4 separate regions of the Homo sapiens genome follow, and regions 1, 3 and 4 are each linked to region 2. Evidence: promoter capture Hi-C in 16 types of primary human blood cells and fetal thymus (Javierre and others, 2016). All regions are on one chromosome and are shown on one strand. The core of a region is centred on a gene start or on the middle of the fragment in contact, and the rest is flanking DNA. Distances in the headings are between cores, read along the strand shown. Region 1 overlaps EIF3B (eukaryotic translation initiation factor 3 subunit B). Region 2 holds the start of INTS1 (integrator complex subunit 1). Region 3 overlaps CHST12 (carbohydrate sulfotransferase 12). Region 4 overlaps MAD1L1 (mitotic arrest deficient 1 like 1).

Region 1 (4,919 bases), core at 2,142-4,641, 860 kb before region 2:
CTAAGGCTGGAGAACTGCCGGCACCACGTCTACTGGAAGCCACTGGACATGCATGAAGTAACTCTGACCCAGATCCCACCTCCAGGAGCCGCCCTGCCCGCCACACTTGGGCACAAGCAGTCCCAGGGTCCACACTGCAGGCTGCAGGCCAGGGTCCTGAGGGCCCTAAAGGCACACCAATGGGGCTGGGTAAACCACTTCAGACAGTGGGGTGTCCTGTAGCCATAACCTTCAAGAAGTCCTGCCCTACTCGAGGAGTCTGAGGGAAAACTGCCCTGATGTCCATCAACAGAGGAAGGAGGCCAAGAAACGGGGTCCACCCAACAAGAGATTACTGCTGACACTCAGCACCGTGGACCAGCTGTGGGAACGCTGTGCTCCGTGAAGGAGGTCAAACACAGAAGGTGGCATAGTATCCGATTCCAGCTGTGTGTTCAGAATAGGGAAATCATAGACATTCGTGATGCCAGGAGCTGGGCGGAGAGGCTGCTAACAGGTATGTTGTTTCTTTGTAGGGTGACAAAAACATTTATTTATTTATTTATTTTTGAGACGGAGTCTCACTCTGTTGCCCAGGCTGGAGTGCAGTGGTGCAATCTCGGCTCACTGCAAGCTCCGCCTCCCGGGTTCACGCCATTCTCCTGCCTCAGCCTCCCGAGTAGCTGGGACTACAGGCACCCGCCACCACGCCTGGCTAATTTTTTGCATTTTTAGTAGAGACGGGGTTTCTACTAAACCCTCGATCTCCTGACCTTGTGATGCCCCGCCTCAGCCTCCCAAAGTGCTGGGATTACAGGCGTGAGCCACCGTGCCCGGCCTTTTTCCTATCTTTTAAAAATTATCTGTGGAGATGGGGTCTCACTGTGTTTCCCAGGCTGGTCTGAAACTCCTAGCCTCAAGCTATCCTCCCTCCCACCCCGGGGGAGCCACCGCACCCAGCCGATGAAAACGTTCTGAAATGAGTGGTGGTGGCTGCATAACTCTGAACACACGAAAAACCACTGAACCAGTTCACCACTCTAAAGGGGTGTTTTCAGGCATGTGAACTACATGTCAATTAAAGCTTTCTTAACATAAAAGAAAGAAGAATACTTCTATTAGAGGGAAAACTCAGGAATTTCTTTTTTTTTGTGAGACGCAGTCTGGCTCTGTCGCCAGGCTGGGGTGCAGTGGCGCAATCTCGCTCTGTTCACTGCAAGCTCTGCCTCCTGGGTTCAAGCGATTCTCCTGCCTCAGCCTCCCGAGTAGCTGGGACTACAGGAGCCTCCCACCACGCCCAGCTAATTATTGTACTTTTAGTAGAGATGGGGTTTCACACCACGTTGGCCAGAATGGTCTCAATCTCTTGACCTCATGATCCGCCCACCTCGGCCTCCCAAAGTGCTGGGATTACAGGCATGGGCCACTACACCCAGCCAACTCAGGCAATTTTTTGATAAAATAAATATTAAATGATCAACCACCAAAAATAAAAAAATAAAAAAATAAATCTTGAGTATACTACTCCTTGTGCTTAGAAAGAAAATAATATTCTCAGCCAGGCACGGTGGCTCACGCCTGTAATCCCAGCCCTTTGGGTGGCCAAGGCGGGCAGATCACCTAAGGTCAGGAGTTCAAGACCAGCCTGGCCAACATGGTGAAACCCTGTCTCTAATAAAAATACAAAAATTAGCCAAGCGTGGTGGTGGACGCCTATAGTCCCAGCTACTTGGGAAGCTGAGGCAGAAGAATCATTTGAAACCAGGAGGCAGAGACTGCAGTGAGCCGAAATCGCACTCCTGCACTACAGCCTGGTGACAGAGTGAGACTCCATCTCAAAAAAAAAAAAAAAAAAAAAAAAAAAAAATCCATTAACACCCTCCAAACAATACGGTGGCCACTTCAGAGCTCAGGATAAGGAATCGTCAGTTCCTGTGGGAATCTACATACCTGGGTGCCTTTCGGAGTCCTATCTACTTTCACACACAAGTAGTCTCCGTTCTTCTGCCAATGGAGCTTGCAGTCCACCACATTGAACAGGTTCCTCACTCGGATCTCTTGCCTGGTAGGGAGCTGCATCAGGGTTACCCTGGCTGGAATATCTTTGTCTTCAGGCACCCAGAAGGCGATTATGTTACCACCAGGAGACCAAGAAAAGTCTCTGCAGAACAGGAAAATAAAATGTTAAAGCAAAGACCAAGTGATGACGAAACTGAAAAGCAGAAGAGAATAGAACAACTCATTTGCTATATAGAAGCTCAATGCTGTCACAGCTGACGCTGAGCGCTCCCTCTGCACAGCCACTGCTCTGGGCATGCCGCGCAGCTTCATAGGTCCTCGCCAGGACCCTGTGGCACTACTGTGCTCACTGTGACAAGGAGTGAATGCAGACAGAATATTAGCAACCCCACCATCACGCACAGACTCATATGGACTCCAGCCTGGGCTCCGTCAGCCCACTCTTAAGACACCGCACACTGCTGCTTTGAGGCAAATAAGTTTTAGGCTGACGGATCTGGCTACATGTCATCTAAAGATTAATTAAGGTGCAAATGGGGAAAATGGCAAATCAAGTGTAAGGAATGAGCAAGAACAAGGGCAGCTCCCTCCACTTTATCAACTACTCTACAGAAGAGCTGCTGTAACGAACGGCTCCTGAGCTCACCTACATGAAAAACATCTTTATACACGCTATGTGCTGTTTTGCATTTTTTGAGAACCAACGTCCTGGTCTTTTCATTTTATAAGCCATAATTTTGCCCAAGAATGTAAAAACGAAAGAAGAAACGTCAATGTCCTTGGATTGTTGGAAGTTCACTGCCGTGATACTGACCAGTCCCAAGTTTTGCGATAAATAAAAACGTGCCCATTCTTTGCTGGTGAAAATGAGCCGAAGGCTCCCCAAACCCTGCCTCGGATGGAAGAGTACCAGGAAAACCTTTCACCTAAGCAGAGTCCCCTCTTTTCCTTAAAAGGCTGGAAACCCCACCCTCCTCAGTTTCTAGATCAAAGACGAGGTAGATGGAAGGAAGCCGACTCAAGGCTCTGGCCTTGAAAATTCATTTCTAGGCACGGGAAGGGGTCACTGAAGTGGTGCCTCAAGGGTGGCGGGCCCAATGCTGAGCAGCCTTGCTGCCCACTGACTCAAGCCTCCATCCTTGTGTCCAGAACAAACTCACCTTAGGCCGGGCGCGGTGGCTCACACCTGTAATCCCTGCACTTTGAGAGGCTGAGGCGGGCAGGCGGATCACTTGAGGTCAGGAGTTCGAGACCAGCCTGGCCAACATGGTGAAACCCCGACTCTTCTAAAATATACAAAAAATTAGCTGGGCGTAGTGGTTGCGCGCCTGTAATTCCAGCTACTCAGGAGACTGAAGCACCAGAATCGTTTGAACCTGGGAGGTGAAGGCTGCAGTCAGCCGAGATCACGCCACTGTACTCCAGCCTGGGCAACAGAGTAAGACTCTGTCTCAAAAAAGATTTAAAAATGGCTGGGTGTGGTGGCTCACGCCAGTAATCCCAGCACTTTGGGAGGCTGAGGTGGGCAGATCACTTGAGGTCAGGAGTTCTGAGACCAGCATGGCCAACACAGTGAAACCCCATCTCTACTAAAAATACAAAAATTAGCTAGGCATGGTGGCAGGCACCTGCAGTCCCAGCTACTTGGGAGTCTAAGGCAAGGAGAATCACTTGAACCCAGGAGGTGGAAATTGCAGTGAGCCAAGATCTCGCCACTCTACACCAGCCTGCAAGACAGAGTAAGACTCTGCCTCAAAAAAAAAAAAAAAAAAAAAAAAAAAAAAAAAATTTTAAAAAAAGAACAAACTCACCGTTTTCTCTCCAACTGGTTAAGAACTGAGTGACAGGCTGGGCATGGTGGCTCACGCCTGTAATCTCAGCACTTTGGGAGGCTGAGGCGGGCAGATCACAAGGTCAGGAGTTTGAGACCAGCCCAGCCAACATGGTGAAACCCCATCCCTACTAAAAATACAAAAATTAGCCGGGCTTGGTGGCACATGCCTGTAGTCCCAGCTACTCGGGAGGTTGAGGCAGAAGAATCACTTGAACCCAGGAGGTGGAGGTTGCAGCGAGCCAAGATCGTATCACTGCACTCCAGCCTGACGGAGCGAGACTCTGTCTCTAACAACAACAACAAAAAGCTGAGTGCTAAAGGAGAGACAGCAAATAAAGGAAACCAACTGCAATGGACCACGTCTGTGTCCCCCAGATTCACAGGGTGAAATTCTAACCCCCTGGGGTGACGGCATGGGGTGGGGCCTTTTGGGGGGTGGGAGGTCCTGAGGGGGAAGCCCTTGGGAATGAGATGAGAGACTTTACAGAACAGGCCACGGAGGCCTTCCTCCAGGGAAGGCTGGACCGAGGGGCTGTCCACTAGGAGGGAGGTGGGCCGTCACCAGACAGTCTGCAGGCACCCTGACCTCAAGCTCCCAAGCTCCAGAACTGGGAGAAAGAAATCTCAGCTGTCATAAGCCACCCAGCCTATGGTATTGTGTTTTTTTTTTTTTTTTTGGTATTGTGTTAAGCAGCCTGAACACACTAAGACACCAAACTGATAAGAATACTCACTTTATCCCAGAGATCTTCAAACTCTTCTTGTCCAAAAGACCCATAGACTGCCCAAAAAAAAGGAAGGCTGCAGTTGAGTCAAATCATGTCAGTGTCTCAGAAACACACCTAACTTTTTACAAAAGGAAACAAGAGTCTGATGTGAGTTTGCCTAGGGGGCAGTGCACACAGAGCGTGACAGTGAACCCATCCACCCACCCGCCACCCAGAACTGCAGTTCTGAAGCCCACTGCATTAACTCCCATCCAGGACTTCCCACGGCTGCGCCAGGTGGGCAGGAGTGACTGAAGAGCTCTGCCCAGAGCAGGGGCAGTTAAAAAGGCACAGGAGACAGGCCTTTCCTATGCATCTGT
Region 2 (5,172 bases), core at 2,189-4,688:
GTGAGCCATCGCGCCTGGCCATAAAAAATATTTTCAAAAAGTGAGCAAACAATTTGAACAGACACCAATAATGCAGATACACGGATGACAAAAAAAGATGAGAAAACGCTCATCATTACTCATCAGGGAGACGCCGATGAAGAGCACAGGGCAGACCCTGCACACCCCCCCAGGATGACGGAACGCCTGTGGTCCTGCCCGGGCCATCAGTGGAGAAGCCATCCTTGGAATCTGGAATCCATCTGGCGGGTGCTACTCAGCAGCTGACAGAAGCCACCGATGCCTGCAACGCTGGGGTAAGTCTCAGAATAATGATGCCAGGCCGGGCGCGGTGGCTCACGCCTGTAATCCCAGCACTTTGGGAAGCCGAGGCGGGAGGATCACGAGGTCAGGAGATCAAGACCGTTGTGGCTAACACGGTGAAATCCCGCCTCTACTAAAAATACAAAAAAAAAAAAAAATTAGCCGGGCGTGGTGGCCAGCGCCTGTAGTCCCAGCTACTCGGGAGGCTGAGGCAGGAGAATGGCGTGAACCCAGGAGGCAGAGGTTGCAGTGAACGGAGATCGCGCCACTGCACTCCAGCCTGGGTGACAGAACGAGATTCCATCTCAAAAAAAAAAAAAGAATAATGACGCCGAGCAGCTGGCCAGGGAGCGTGCACTGTGTGCTTTCATTCACACAGACTCCAGAAGAGCAAACAGCGCCTCTCCAGGGACAGAAAGTGGCGCCCTGGCGGCCTGGGGACAAGTCAGGGGTGGTTTGGGAATGTTCGTTACAGGGTTGAAAGGGATGGGGGATGGGGCCACAGGTACGTGTGAATGTCAACACGCATCAGTGTGCACCCTTTACACCCTTTACACACCTGCAGTTTATCAGACGTCAATCATAACTCAAAAAAGCTGTTTTCAAAAAGAGGCGGGGAGAGGGAGGAGGAAGGCAAAGAGGTAGAGGAGGGGGAGGAAGAGGAAGAGGGGAAGGAGACGGAGGAGAAAGAGAAGAGGGAGGAGGAGGTGGTCAAGGTTGACTCCTGAGTTTTTAGAGAACGAGGAAGACGAGGAGCAGGAGGAGAGAGAAGGGGGAAGAGGTGGTCAAGGTTGACAGGAGGAGGAGGAGGAGGAGGAGGAGGAGGGGGAGGAGGGGAGGAGGGGGAGGAGGAGAAGAAGGGGAACGAAGGGGAGGGGGGAGGGGGAGGAGGGGGAGGGGAAGGAGGGGAGGGGGAGGGGGAGGAGGAGAGGAGGGGGGAGGGGGAGGAGGGGGAGAAGAAGGAAGGGGAGGAGGGGGAGGAGGAGGGGGAGGGGGAGGGGGAGGGGGAGGAGGAGGTAGTTGTTCTCAAGGTCGACCCTGAGGTTCTGGCCTGGGCCCGGGTGAGGGCATTTGCCGAAGGCACAGGCCCCGCATGCAGGGGCGGTGATGCTGGTCAGAGGATGAGGAGAGGCAGGTGGCGGGGCAGAGGAAGCTCTGTGCAGGGTGCTCCCATTCAGGTGACAGGAGGAGGAAGCATTACCCCATCGGATCTCCCCTCCCCTTAGAGAGTTACCCTGAGGGACAGATTGAGAAACTGTAGAGGGATGAAGCCGCACAGCCCCCGCCTGGCGTCCGGCAGGGATCCGCGCCTGACCGGCCTCTCCTCCCATGGGCACCACGGACGTCTCCTTCCGGACTCGCTGCCCACACAGCGCAGGGTGCAGGGCCCTGGAGCCCTTGGGGTCCTGCGGGGACCCAGCTGGTGCCCACAGGAGTGGAAAGAGACCGTGGCGGGTCACACAGCAGTTCTCAGGCTGCAGCCTGGGGCCATGAGCCTCACTGAGGCCACAGTCAAATGGCCACACCCAACTTCAGGGGCACAGGGAGACCAGCTCTGCCTTGCGGTCCCTGGATGAGGAGATGGGACACACCGGGCAGGCGGTGCTCAGGACTCCCTCGGTGGCGGGGCAGCGTTCGAGTCAGTGCCCTGCTGGGAACAGATCTCCAAGATGTGGTTAAGTGGCAAAAGCCAGGTGCAGAAAAGAGGAGCCGTGCGCTACCTGCAGGGTGACAAGGCAGAGGGAGGCACACGGGTGGCTGCCTGAACGCACACGGAAAAGCCGGGAACACAGGCACAAATCAGAACACAGGCTGACTCCAGGGGAGGGGACCAGCTGCTCAGGGGTCAGGGGAGACCTTCGACCCTTTGACTGGATGATTCCCCCACCTTTTATTTTTATTTTTTTTTAGACAGGGTCTCGCTCTGTCGGCCGGCTGCAGCGTAGTGGCACCATCATAGCTTACTGCAGCCTTGACCTCCCAAGCTGAAGAGATCCTCCTACCTCAGCCTCCTCAGTAGCTGGGACCGTAGGCATGCACCACCATGCCTGGCTAATTTATTCTTGATTTTTGTTTGTAGAGATAGGGTCTCACTATGTTGCCCAGGCTGGTCTCAGACTCCCACTTTGGCCTCCCAAAGGGCTGGGATTAGAGGTTCATGCCACCATGCCCAGCTAATTTTTATTTTTTTGTAGAGATGGGGGTCTTGCTATGTTGCTCAGGCTGGTCTCGAACTCAACCGATCCTCCTGCCTTGGTCTCCCAAAGTGCTGAGATTACAGGCATGAGCATCACACCTGGCAACTGTATGATCTTTTGTGTCTTTTGAGTTTTGTTCCCATCAGTGTTTCCATTAAAAAAAAAAAAAAAAAGGCGTGGGGGCGGGGCGGGCGCAGTAATTCCAGCACTTTGGGAGGCCAAGGCGGGCGGACCACCTGAGGTCAGGAGTTCGAGACCAGCCTGGCCAACATGGTGAAACCCCGTCTCTACTAAAAACACAAAAAAATTAGCCAGACATGGTGGCGGGCGCCTGTAATCCCAGCTACTCGGGAGACTGAGGCAGGAGAATCGCTTGAACCTGGGAGGTGGAGGTTGCAATAAGCCGAGGTCGCGCCACTGCATTCCAGCCTGGGCGACAGAGCGAGACTCCGTGCCAAAAAAAAAAAGAAAAAAGAAAAGGGTGAACTTTGTGGAACACGAGTTCTATCTCAATAAAGCTATTATTATTATTATTATTATTATTTGAGACAGGGTCTCTCCCCGGGAGCCCCCCGGGCTGCGCCCCCTCGCCAGTGCCTGCGCCCCGGCCGCCCCCGCTCTCCGGGACGTGCAGAACCTGCCACTTGACTCATCCGCGGATCCCTGACGCCACTCCTCCCCGCCGTGCGTCCTGGAGTGCGTCCCTTCGCAACGCCAGCACCACCTGTGAATGGAGAGGCCAGCGCCTGCCCCGCGCCGCCGACCCACCTGGACCGGACCACATGCGCGCGGCGCCGGCCAGCCCGCCTCCCGCCGCCATGGGGCGCTGCAGGCATCAGGCCGGCGCCGCGGGCCTCTCGCGCCTCCTTCTGGGCCCGCTTCCCGCCGCACTGTTTTCCTTCCGGTTGTTCCGGAAGTCGGGTCCTCGAGGGCGGTGAGATCGGTTTCCGATTCCGGGGTGGCCGGGTGGCGGCGGCGGCGCTCCGGTCGCGATGGGCCAGAGGTAAGTGAGCCGCGGCCTGGGCGCTTCCTCATTGCCGGGCGAGCGCCTGGTTCTCCCGGCTACCGCTCCCGGCCTCTGGGCCGTCCCTTCTGGTTCTGCCGCCTCCAGCCCGGCGTCCGCGTCGCCTGCTGCCGCCCGACTGAGCCGCTCCCGGGCGGCTGGGAGGCGGGGTCCCTGCAGCTCCTGCAGCATCGCCCCGCCGGGCGGGCGCGGGACCACTGTCCCCGGGTCCCAGGCCCAAGCCCCGTGCGGCAAGGGAGCGAATGAGCGAGCGAACGAGCGAATGAGTGAAGGAATGACCGCACGCTGGCTCCTCCGCAGGTGACGCCGCAGCCGCCGGGAGCCGCGAGGGACGGGGCAGGATGAACCGGGCCAAGCCCACCACGGTGCGCCGGCCCAGCGCCGCGGCCAAACCCTCAGGTGCGTCTCCCTCCTCGCTCTGCAGCCCGGGGGTCTTTGGGGGTCTTTGGGGGTCTTTGGGGATCTCAGCTGCCGCGGATCCTGCGTTGGGCTTGGTTGTTCCGCAGCCGCGGCTGTTTCCAGGAATTCGGTCTGGAAACACTGCTCTCGGTCCTCAGCGGCTCTGAGAGTCCCTGGGAGGCTTGGGACAGTGGCGACTTCCTTCGGGACCCCGGTGATCTCGTTTCAGGCTGAGCTGCAAGGCGGCCGACAGTAGCGGAAGGTCTCCCCAGCCAGGAGGCGGGAGGCAGCACAGTGTAGCGTAGCACGGGGTCTGCGGCTGAACTGTCGGCTCAGATCCTCCGGACTTTGCCACTCGCCTGCTGTGTGACGCTGGGCACGTCGCTTAACCTCTCTGTGTCCCTTTCTCTCTTGTAAAGTTAGAGTAATAGCACCTATTGCGGAAACTCGGGGCGGGGGTTACTAAGCACACTAATTTGGATAGACCAGAGATGGCCTGGTTTGTGGTTAGCGCTACGTGACTGTCCACCATCACCTGTGCGTATCCTGCTGGTCCCAGCTCTGCTGTAGGCTGCTGAGTGAGCTCTGGCTTCTTCCTTGCCTCCTCTGACCCTTGTTTAATCCCCTCTGACATAACAGGAGGTTAGAGTCAGTCTTTTTCCATCTTGGGTGTTGCAAATGTGCCCGGTTTTCTCTCTCCTTTCTCTGCAGGGCACCCTCCCCCAGGAGACTTCATTGCTCTGGGCTCAAAGGGTCAGGCCAATGAATCGAAAACGGCGTCCACCCTGCTGAAGCCAGCCCCTTCCGGCCTGCCTTCTGAGCGCAAGCGGGATGCGGCGGCCGCGTTGTCCAGTGCCTCGGCCCTCACCGGTCTCACCAAACGCCCCAAACTCTCCTCCACACCCCCTCTGAGTGCCCTGGGGCGCCTGGCTGAGGCTGCAGTGGCAGAAAAACGAGCCATTTCTCCGTCGATTAAAGAGCCATCTGTGGTGCCAATTGAAGGTAATGAGTCTGTGGACATCCCCCGAGAACACCCCTCAGCTCATGCCGTCCATCAGGTGTTCAGGGAAGGCCCCCTCCAGGCCTAGTGCTGCCCGTATGGCCGAGGTCCTTTGGGAGAGCGGATGTTTGTGGCTTGTTCTTGGAAGTGCTTCTCACGTAGATGCCCTTATCCCGTGTGTGCATCTGCGTCCTGCACTGCCAGTGGCTGCCCTTTGAGAACCGGGTCACTCCCTTATTGAGTTGTTT
Region 3 (5,168 bases), core at 644-3,143, 900 kb before region 2:
TAGTACACCATAATTATTTTTCGTTTCCCGCACGATGGTTTATTTTCCCTGGAACTAATAACAGCCTTGTGTTTTCATTTGCTTTGTTTAGTACTTATCACTAATCCCGCCCCAACTCTGCCAACTGTATCAACTCCTCTCCAGATGCTGCAGCATGTCAGGTGTCCTGCTAATTTCATCTTCTCCCAAAGAATCTCCTCTTGGAGCCTCTGACCAGCTGGGGTCAGGACATGTCTGCTCTTCACACCAGCACCTGGCTGGGATTTCCCTTCAGCAGGTTCTTCTCACCTCTCACCTGGGGGAAATCCTGTTCCCACCAGCCAGTCTCTCTCAGTCTAGACTTACTGCCTCATCTGGGGAGACTACATCTGCCAATCACCTCCTTAAAGCATGAGGAACAAATCTGGGAGCAAGTCTGAAGTTGTCTTTACCCTACCCTCCCTTGCCTGAGTGTAGACTTCCAGGCTGCAAATGCATCCTTCAGAATTTCTCAAGCAAGGCCCTCCCGTCTCCTGCCACCCAGTGCTGCTTTGAAAAAGCCCAAGCCCTTCTGCTTCTTTTCATTTTAATTGTAGTTAGTTCTTCTGCCTTTTTCCACATGTTCTAACCTTCTGCCTCTTGACCTGTGATGACCTATTTGTGATTTGTTTTTACTTTCTCCTCTTGTTCTGAGATTTCACAACAGTATGTCCTGGAGAGGGTACGCAAGGATCTTTTTTTTTTTTTTTTTTTTTTTTTTTTGAGACGGAGTCTCACCCTTGTTGCCCGGGCTGGAGTGCAATGGCATGATCTCCACTTACCGTTACCTCCGCCTCCCAGGTTCAAGCAATTCTCCTGTCTCAGCCTCCTGGGCAGCTGGGATTACAGGCACCTGCCACCATACCTGGCTAATTTTTGTATTAGCCAGGGTTTCACTATGTTGGCCAGGCTGGTCTCAAACTCCTGGCCTCAAGTGATCCGTCCACCTCGGCCACCCAAAGTGCTGGGATTACAGGCGTGAGCCACAGCGCCTGGCCTCTGAACTCTCACTATCCAAATTCTGGGGTCAACAGCTGCAGACATGCTTTCAAATAAATCCTTCCCCTCCCAAGCTCTCACTAGTCTTTATCTGAAACTCAGCCTCTCTCACTATCCAAGTTTGCTGCCCAGACTTTTAATTTTTTAAATTTTATTTTTGAGACGGAGTCTCATTCTATTGCCCAGGCTGGAGTGCAGTGGCACGATCTGGGCTCACAGCAACCCCCGCCTCCTGGGTTCAAGCAATTCTCCTGCCTCAGCCTCCTGAGTATGGGATTACAGGCACCCACCACCATGCTTGGCTAATTTTTGTATTTTTAGTAGAGATGGGGTTTCATCATGATGGCCAGGCTGGTCTCGAACTCCTGACCTCAGTGATTCACCTACCTCCTAAATTGCTGGGATTACAGGCATGAGCCACCACACCCAGCCTTCCCAAGCTTTTAATATCCAAGCTGAGAAGTGAAGAGGCTATGAAAGTGAAGGATACCTGCATTTTCACCCGTGGTACTGGCCACTGGGTGAGCCTCTTTAACCCAGAAAGTTTGGGTTCTAGGAAATTATTTTGTGAATTTCATCCTGTTTTCCCTATTTTTTTCTTCTGGAAACTTTTTAAAATGTATTTTATTTTATTTTTTAGAGATGGGGTCTTGCTCTGTCACCCAGGCTGGATGGCAGTGGCATGATCACAGCTCACTGCAGCCTCAAACTCCTGGGCTCAAGTGATCCTCCCACCTCAGCCTCCCAAGTAGCTGGGACTACAGGTGCACACCACCACACCTGGCTAATTTTTAAATTTTGTTGTAGAGATGGGGGTCTTGCTATGTTGCCCAGGCTGGTCTTGAACTCCTGGCCTCAAACGATCCTCTCACCTCAGCTTTGAAGCTCTTACTATTCAGCTGCTGACTTCCTGATCTGATCCTTTCCGTTTCTTTTTTCTCTCATTTGCCACCTCGTTGCTTTTCTGTTCTACTTTCTGAGGGAGTTCCTCAACTTTATCTTTCACCCACTAACTGATTTTCTTATTTCTGCTTTTATTTTTTTTTTTTACATCCGAGAGTTCTCTTTTTGGATATTCGAATACTCCTTTTGGTGGCTTTTTTTTAGAGCTTCCTGTTCTTGCCTCATGTTCGCGATATTTTCGCTCACCTCCGCGTGGACATTAATGACAGCCTGCTTTCTAAGGCTCCTTCCTGCACGCTCTCTGGTTTCCCAGTGTGTATTCTGGTCTCAATCTCCTGTAGCAGAGGTTTTCTTCAGATGCCCTTGGTTATCTGCTCATATTTAAGGGATGGGGATTTTTAAAGCTTGATGCCTTGAACACTGGGAGGGGGTTATTAATGACGGGCTTCGTTAGCAAGGGATCCAGCTGGGTCTGCTGACTGGGGACCTCCTGATGTCATTAATTTTAGGTCTTTTCTCTTGGGCTACTCAGATTCCCCAAAGACACATCCATCCTCCTGTCTACAGGGAAAAGCCCCAGCTGGTCATGTTCTGGGAGCCAAAGGGTCCCTGTTCGCTTCCTCCTCCTGTGCCCTGTTCAGCACTGCGCCCCCACCCCATACTCAACCGCGCCCCCACCCCGTACTCAACTGTGCCCCCACCCCGTACTCAACTGTGCCCCCACCCCGTACTCAACTGTGCCCCCACCCCATACTCAACTGTTCCCCCACCCCGTACTCAACTGTGCCCCCACCCCATACTCAACTGTGCCCCCACCCCGTACTCAACTGTACCTGTCTCCCATTCTTCTCTGAAATATCTTTAAAGTTTCTAAACAGTTACAGAAACCACCACCTTAACAGCAGGAAGTAATAAGTTGGAGAGTCAATTATCTCCAGGCACATCTGTGGGCCAGGGCTGGAGAACCACAGTCCCGCCTGCAGCCACAGACCCACTAAGCAAGTGTGAAACTAACAGCTACTCTCCGAAAAGAAAGACAACTTAAGAATCGAAACTCAAGATGTACGGTTTTTTTAAATGACAAACAAGCCGCATGTGTTTCAGTATCATCAATAACCCGTCTTTTCCCACTGATGGCTCCTTCAGCCCCTGACCCACACTAGAAGAGAATCACCTGCCAGCCTCAATGACTGTGCGTAGTCAAGGAACTGCACGCCCAAGGTCAGCCAACCAACGGGCCTCTCTTCAGCTCTGGATCCCTTCCCACTGGGGTTCCTGGGGATTCCCTCCTTGTACAGGCTGTCTCTTCTCCACCAGGTCACATCTCCTCCAGGATGGCCACCAATACCGCCAACTCTGCAGGTCTAAAACCCACGTGTGTTTGTGTGGCCCTTCCTCTCCCACCTGGCCGCAGCGCTCCTCATCGCAGGTGAGAAGTCCCGGCTGCCCTCGCTGTTACAGGTCGCCACATCTCACAAAGCGCCACCGCCCAGTGGATTTGGCAACATCTTTCAGCTCCATGCCCGCCCCCACTCTCTCACTGCCCCAGACCCACGCCCCACAAGGCTACTCAACTCAGCTCCACTGCCCAGAGGCAAAACCCACCTCCCATATTCTCACCACGACCACTTTTCTGAAACACATCTAATCGCGTCGCACCCAAACCACCACCAAAGGGATAAAAGTTTAAACTCCCTCACACAGCATTCAGGCCCCTGCACAATCAGAAACCCATCTTTCCAGTCTTTTTTTTACTCTGTTGCCCAGGCTGGAGTGCAGAGGCCCAGTGTCGGCTCACTGCAACTTCCGCCTCCAGGTTCAAGCTATTCTCTTGACTCATCCTCCTAAGTAGCTGGGACTTCAGGTGTGCACCACCACGCCCAGCTAAATTTTGTATTTTTAGTAGAGATGGGGTTTCACCATGTTGGCCAGGCTGGTCTCGGACTCCTGACCTCAGGTGATCCGCCCGCCTCTGCCTCCCAAAGTGCTGGGATTACAGTCACGAGCCACCTCGCCCGGCCTTCCAGTCTTAGCTTCCAACCCAATCCTCAAACCCCACTTCATCAAGAACACGGCGACCCACCATCTCCCCCAAACATCACTTTCACTTCCACATCTCTGCATGCCCTTTGCCTCCAAACGCCCCAATTCATAGGTCCTCTCCACTGTGGAAAATGTCGGAAAATGTCGCCACATTCTGTTAACGCCTGCACCACAGTCTCAACTCCACACAGTTGTAGCCAGGCTGGCCGTGAGCTCCCAGGGCAAGGCCCACGCTATTACCGGCATCTACCCCAGCTTAGCATCTTGCACTCGATTGGAGGTTTGATAATAAAGCTGGAGTCAGCTGAGTGACAGCAGACAGTTACTGCTGGCCCCAAAGCGTCAGCCCAAAGTCCCATAAACTCCTTTGCAGGGAAATCAAACATCTATGCCATTCCAGGCAGGTGCTCTTTCAGATCTCAAGCGTTGCACCTTCGTGTAGCAATCTCCTCATTACCCCTGTTTTCTCTCCATCCTCACTCAGACACCAGCCCTGACTCCCAACACCAGATGCTCACGGTGAGGGGCTAACCCGGGTCCCCGCGTGGGGGTAAGTGGGGGACCCGCTGAGCTGTCCCCAACCACCCACAGCCGGGAACAGCACCGTAGGGCCTGGTGTCCTGGAAGATGTACTGCGTCCAGCACCGCGCCTGCAACTCACATTCCTATTCACCCCGGGGCTTCCGAGTCCCCACAGCCCCGCTTATGAACTAAATAATTTAATAATGCTGGAAACACTATGGCTTGTTGTGCTGCCTGCCAGACGGAGCCTCTGCCCGAGCCAAGGCTTTGCCGGCGGTGTCTCGGTGGCCGGGAGCCCGCAGAGGAGGTCTAAGTCCCACTGTTCCCGGACTAAATGCACGGTTTCCTCTCCCAGAGGGGCAGGGCTGCGGCTTCTGGAGTGAGAGGTCATTTAAGGGATACCCTGAGCGACCTGCCGGTGCTGCTGGCGTCTGCAGGCTCCAGGGCTGCGGTCGGCGGGGCCGGGGAGCCCCGTTCAGGTGACAGCAGGCACACGGGGGCCCTCGGGAGCTGGGGATCCTGGAACTCCAAGCCCGGGAATTGGTCCTACCCCTGCCGGGCGGCAGAGGCTGATGCCGGGCAGGGGGACTCCTGGGGGCCGGCGGGGCCGCTGCAGCCTCTGCTGTCGCTGAATCAGAACCACAGATTTCTCGTCCAGACCCCGAGGAGCCGCAGAACGCGCT
Region 4 (5,399 bases), core at 2,797-5,296, 690 kb before region 2:
GGACCCTGGAGCTGGAGAGTGGCGAGTGTGCTGCCCTCCAGAGGTGCAGGCCAGGGTGGGGCGTGAGCCAGGTTCCCAGCTCCGTCCGAGCACGGTGCCTGCCATCTCTCCTCTTCTCAACCCCAGCTCCTCCTGTGGCTGAGTCCTGGCCGCTTTCTGCCTTGGGGTTGTGTTGGTTTTCCGTAAACGCATCCTCTCAATCCTGAGCATTGTGAGTTAAGAGCTGGGGTCTCCCTTTAGCGCCCCTGAGCCAGACGTGCAGTAGGCGTGTGCTGAGCCTTTGAAGAGTGGAGGACCGAGCGAGGGCGTCTCTGTGCCTTGCAGTTGGTGGTGATGTATGGGCGGAGCCTCCAGTGCTCTTGGCTGCTGTGACAGGGCCCCCCTGGGGTCCTGCACTATCCCAGCGAGACCCCCAAAGCAAGGCCAGCAGAGAGCTTCCTGACAGCTGCCTCGCTTTGGCGACGGCCCTGGCTGGGGTGCAGCCTGTGCCCCTCTCCGCCCCCTTGTGAAGTTTCGGATGGGCGTTCCCAGCAGTGCTGACAGGCTCACGCCGCCCTTGGGCTTCATTCCAGGTACGGTCGGGCAGGCTGGAGACTGTCAGAGTCTGGGGGCGGTGCTGTGGGTGTTGGGACCCCGCAGGGAGAGGCGAGAGAAGGGCTTCCCAGAAGAGACCGTTGGGCTCCACCCCTGCATGTGCCTGACTGCACAGACAGCTGAGTGCTCTGCGGCGTGTCCGGGTGGAAACGCTATCACTTGGTCTCGGAGCTCTTTTTGGGGCTTTTCTCCAAGCTTTGTAGATAGGGCTCTTCTACTTATAGGTCTCTTTTTAAATTGATTTTAAAAAGTCTAAGGCCAGAGTGACAGGCTTTAGACAAGTCCGGCTGCCGTAGGTTCCAGGATTTATTTTAGAGGAGGCGGTGGCATCCCTGGTGGTATCTGGGCTGGTTTTTACTCATGGGTGCTTACTGGGGTCCTGTTGCGTGCTGTCCCCTCCTTGTGGGCTAGGGGCTCCCAGGGTGTCCACGTCCCTACTTTTACAGGTAGAGCAGGGGGTGCCCTGGCGTGGAATGGAGGAAGGGTCTGGGCAGCTTTGTGACAGGGCTGGTAGGAGGGGGATTTTGACAGGCGGCTTGAAGCCAGCGCCAGCCGAGGGCCAGAGGCAGAGAAGCTGAAGGCCTCCTCTGGGCAGCCCACCACTACCTGCCCTTCTCTCCGAGGACTTCCCAGCAGTGCCATGGCCTTCGGAGAGCTGGGGTCTCAGGCAGGCTACGGGGCTCCACAGCTCCCCACCCAACATTCCTCAACGTCAGCTTTGGGGCTGTGAGGTGTGACCTCTACAGGATCACCTGGGGTCACTCCCTGCAGCCAGCTGTAGCTGTCATTTGTGTCAGGAGCTGCTGGTCTTGCCTGCACCACCCACCCTTCCCGCCCTCCACCTACCCTGCGTGGCCTGGGTTCTTGGGAGGAACAGGAGATCCTGAGCTGTTGAATTCCTGGAACCCACGGTCACTCGGCACCCGCATCCCGCTCCTCCCAGCTCCTGCACGCTTCTCACTGGTGTGGTCACCTGGAATCAGGTGCCCTGATTCTGCTGGACAGGCGGGAGGGGAGGCTGGGCCGAAGGGTGGACCAGCCTTTGCACGCTCAGTGGCTGCAGGGGGGCCGTGTGCATGAAGCAGGCGGTCCTCGTGGTAGCACCGTTTGTGCAGAGCCGCGGTGGGGAGAGCGGGCTTGCGTTCACAGAAGTGCTGTGAGATGATCACTTCATCACAAGCCAGTCAGCACCAGCCTGTGGGGCGGCTCATGTGGACTAAGTGATCTGACTTTCCTGGCTTTTGTTTGACGATGTTTCCACTGTTATCCAGGTGCAGAGAGCTCTGATCTCCCACGATCGGAAGTACCGTGTGCGTGTCTTACCTGGGCAGAATGCAGAGACCTTCACTGGCAGCTGTGTGTGGACCCTGGGGCTCTGTTACACAGCCAGGTGCTGAGGAGCAGGGCTCCGAGCCAGGCCAGCGAACCTTCCTTAGACCCCCTGTGTGCAGGCCTGGTGCCTGGTGTCGGGGGCCCAGTGGAGAACAAGATCCGGCTGTTGCCATGGGACTTTCGTCTGGTGGGGAGTCCTGAGGAGGATGTGGATGAGGTGGAGAAGAGGTTCCAGGTGAACGCAAGTGTCCACCCTGCATTCCAGGGTGGCAGGCGGCCCGGGGCGGGTGTGGGGTGGTTGGGTGGGCGCCCCGCGTGCTATGTTAGCGTAGGGTGGTGCACACCTGGCCGGCAGGCCTTGGTCCCGCTCTTCACCCTCCACCTGTCGTGGGTGCGCCCCGGGAGGGGTGGAGGATGGAGGGCAGGCGTGGGAAGAGCTCTGAGACCCTTGGCTTCATGGAGAGTGTTGGGCAGTTACCCCTCCCTTGCCCTCGGGCCTTTGTGAGTGTGGCTTCCTGGAACTCTGGGGGATTTGTCACCAGTGACTGCAGGGGGCTCTCCCATCCCTTTCATCCAGGCTTCACTGTCTGCCCTAAGCTGGGGACTGGTCCAGCTGACCTGGATGGTGCGGAGTGTGGGCCCTGCTGGCCAGCATGGCGTTGGGAAGCACCTAGGTGGGTGGTGGGTTGGGTTGTGGCCTTACCGCGGAGTCTGGGCTGCAGCTGAGAAAGCCGTCTCCTAGGACCAGGAATCTGGGTTTGGGAGGCTGGAGGTCTTGGCCCAGCAGTTCAGTGGCTGCCCGGTGTGTCTGCCTGGCCTGGCCCTCGTCTGGTTTCCGTTGTCTGGGAGGCACCCCTGCCCGTGCCAGGCGGGGCACTGCGGGGGCGCGGATGCGGAGTGGAAGACTGCTGATTTAGGAATCGAAACTCCAGGGACATCCGTGTAGCAGAGTGATTCTAAGATGATTAAGAAAACCATCAATGATTTAAAGAAAGTGTTCACTGCAGTCCTTATTGAGCGGTTTGCCGCGTGCAGGGCATGTGGGGGTGGCGCACCAGGCTGCAGGCGCCCTTCATGACGGCAGGCAGGGGACCTCCTAGGAGTCTTGGCTGTGACACGTGAGGTATGAAGGCCAGAAAGGTGAACGTGTGGAATCTGTGACCCAGAAGTAACAAACTCCTTTCTTGGAGAGCAGTTAGGTATTCCATTCCTTAGTCCATATGCCAACATTTAAAAAGGCCAAAACCAGAGGCCTAGAAAATGTATCTGGAAGTTGCAGTGAGACCGTTTTTGATCATTGTGGCCTTCCTGGGGCTCAGTTTCCTCGCTTTGCAAATGCCATTTTGGCAGGGATCTGCTGTGGGGCATCTCCGTGCAGGTGGAGCTGGAGTTGCGCATCTTTCTCAGGCTGGCATCATACAGGCCCCAGTGCACTCTGGCAGGGAGGGGCAGCCCCCTCCTGGATAGCCCCGCCCAAGGCCGGGAGGACTGTGAAGGGGGGATCCCACTGCCTGACCTCAGCCTGTCGGGCCCCACAGCGCGTCTCTCTGTGGACTGGTCGCCGGCTTCCTGTGGCCTGTGTGTCCTCCGAGTGGCTGGAGCTTTGGAACCCTATTCTGTAGCTTGGAGCTCCTGAGCCTCAAAGGGCAGGGGCCTGGTTCCTTGCCCATCCTTGCCCAGCCTGATGGCCTGTGCTTGTGGACTGTACATGGGCACCTGCTTTAACACCTGGAGGAGTAGGGGCTACCAAGAGCATGTGGCTCTGGGCCTCCCTGGGAGAGTCACTCAGCGGCAGGAGAACTGAGTGGGACACATCAGGGAGTGTCTGTCTCATGGACGCCTGTTGGCCTGCAGCCTGGAGAGGGGGCCTGAAGTGTGTGTTCCATGCTCTTGACCCCCAGGAAGCACTCGCCTCTGTTGAAAGCCTCGTGCCGCAGAGCGCGATTGCTGTCCCGGGTGGACGGCCATCACGGGCTCCTTGCTCCGGCGATGCCAGCGCTCCTGGTGTTGTGTGTGGCTGGCTCCCCCTTGTCTCAGCCCTGGGCTTAGAGCAGGCCAGGTGCTCAGGCAGTGGTTTTGTTGCTTGAAGGGGGGTGTGTACCTGGCTGCAGCCTGTGGAGAGCGTGAGTGGCTGGCAGAAGCAAAGGCGGGCTCTTGGGAGATGAGAGCAGGCAGCCGGCCTGGAGGCTTCCATGGGGCTGGTCAGCTCCTGCTGGCTCTTCCTGGCACAAATCCACGCTGGGCTGGGTGCCTTGGCTCACACCTGTAATCCCAGCACTTTGGGAGCCTGAAGTGGGAGGATCGCTTGAGCCTGGGAGTTCAAGACCAGCCTGGGCAACACTGTGAGACCCTATCTCTATTTTTAAAAATAAAAATATAAAGATAACCCTTCCTCCAAAAAAAAAAAAAAAAACCCAAACTCATGGTGGACCTTGGGATGAGCGGGGGCGCTTGTGGGGCAGAACTGGGTGTGGTTGCCCCGTCCTGGGCCTGTTCCCAGGCCTGCTCTTAGAGGAGGGGCTGATGGGCCCTGTGGGTGCAGGGAGATGGGGTCAGTCACAGGCTGGGGCCTGGGGGCTGGGACCTGGGGGCTGGGACCCGGGGGCTAGGACCAGTTTTGGCTCTCAGGCAGGGAGGGGTTGTGAACTCTGTTTTGGGAATGTGTGTTTGAAGTGTCAGTGATGTAGCCAGAAGGAGGTGTCAGACAGCAGCCGATGTCAGGCCTGCATGGCTCCTAGAGGAGCCCTAGGGCTGGCCTGCCCAGTGAGGGGCAGGGATGAGCCGGCCTAGGGGAGTGGCAGAGCCAGAGGAGCAGACAGCTGGCCCGAGTCTGGAGGGATTTTGGCGTTTGCAGGTGGCTTTGAGCCTGAGGGCCAGTGCCTCACCGGGTCAGAGAGCTCTGCAGCCCGCCAGTCCTGGTCGTGCCTGTGTCCGAGCTTGGGCCCGTGTGCAGGGAGAAGGTGGCTGTGCAGTGCACGTCGTGTGTACCAGGCGTCGGCGGAGTGATGCGTGGGTCGGGGCGGGAGATGAGAGGAGGAGTGAGGAGAGGCTAGAAGCCTCCAGAGCAGTGGGGTTTCTTCCTCTTCTTCACTGGTGAGTGCTTCTTGAACACATAGGTGTGCAGGCCTGGTGCTGGGTGCTGGGGATACAGCTATAAGTCAGGGGCTGTTTTCCAGTCCTCTCAGATCTAGCCGGGCATATGTCTGCTAGGTCAAGCGTGGCTCCTGAAGAGATGACACTTGAGAGGCTGGCAGCATGTTCCAGATAGGGTGGGTGCTGGCAGCACACAGGTTGGCCAGATGCTGCGTGTTCGGACAGTGTTGTGTGGCTCCAGCTGGTTCTAACCACAGTTCTCCTGGGATGTGGCAGAAGCTGGACAGGTTGGCAGGGATCTGTCCTGTCCTGAGGGTGGTTTGGACCGCGTCCTGCAGGTCACAGGAGCCGCAGAAGGTCTTCATCAGGGAGGAGCACAT

The links. The method cuts DNA at HindIII sites, captures the fragments that hold promoters and counts their contacts. A CHiCAGO score of 5 or more calls a contact.
Region 1: a contact is called between a fragment that was not itself captured here and the fragment with the promoter of INTS1 in region 2, in 3 of 17 cell types (total CD8 T cells, total CD4 T cells and naive CD4 T cells). The highest score is 6.2, in total CD8 T cells.
Region 3: a fragment that was not itself captured here is called in contact with the fragment with the promoter of INTS1 in region 2 in 4 of 17 cell types (naive CD4 T cells, naive B cells, non-activated CD4 T cells and 1 more); the score reaches 5.2 in naive CD4 T cells.
Region 4: a fragment that was not itself captured here is called in contact with the fragment with the promoter of INTS1 in region 2 in 3 of 17 cell types (M1 macrophages, M2 macrophages and M0 macrophages); the score reaches 8.8 in M1 macrophages.

Annotation. Positions count from the first base shown.
Region 1 is chr7:2,366,693-2,371,611 of GRCh38, reverse strand. EIF3B (eukaryotic translation initiation factor 3 subunit B) reads right to left here. Exons shown (of 19, transcript NM_001037283.2): 9 at 4,567-4,613; 10 at 1,930-2,140. Among named protein-coding and RNA genes, the nearest start is that of EIF3B, 14 kb to the right of the region's middle. The HindIII fragment of the contact is 4,651 bases long and covers 1,066-4,919 here.
Region 2 is chr7:1,502,655-1,507,826 of GRCh38, reverse strand. INTS1 (integrator complex subunit 1) reads left to right here and starts at 3,438. Exons shown (of 48, transcript NM_001080453.3): 1 at 3,438-3,504; 2 at 3,826-3,924; 3 at 4,636-4,926. The coding sequence starts at 3,867. RefSeq lists enhancers at 1,154-1,749, 1,935-2,124, 1,750-2,346 and a silencer at 3,233-3,792. The HindIII fragment of the contact is 9,546 bases long and covers 1-5,172 here.
Region 3 is chr7:2,403,936-2,409,103 of GRCh38, reverse strand. All of the region lies in intron 1 of CHST12 (carbohydrate sulfotransferase 12), which reads right to left. Among named protein-coding and RNA genes, the nearest start is that of CHST12, 2.9 kb to the right of the region's middle. RefSeq lists enhancers at 180-299, 310-369, 2,007-2,126, 2,977-3,096. The HindIII fragment of the contact is 867 bases long and covers 1,460-2,326 here.
Region 4 is chr7:2,197,024-2,202,422 of GRCh38, reverse strand. The region is part of intron 10 of MAD1L1 (mitotic arrest deficient 1 like 1); the gene reads left to right. It overlaps LOC105375126 (a long non-coding RNA gene), which reads right to left and starts at 2,705. Exons shown (of 3, transcript XR_001745062.3): 1 at 2,630-2,705. The HindIII fragment of the contact is 6,509 bases long and covers 792-5,399 here.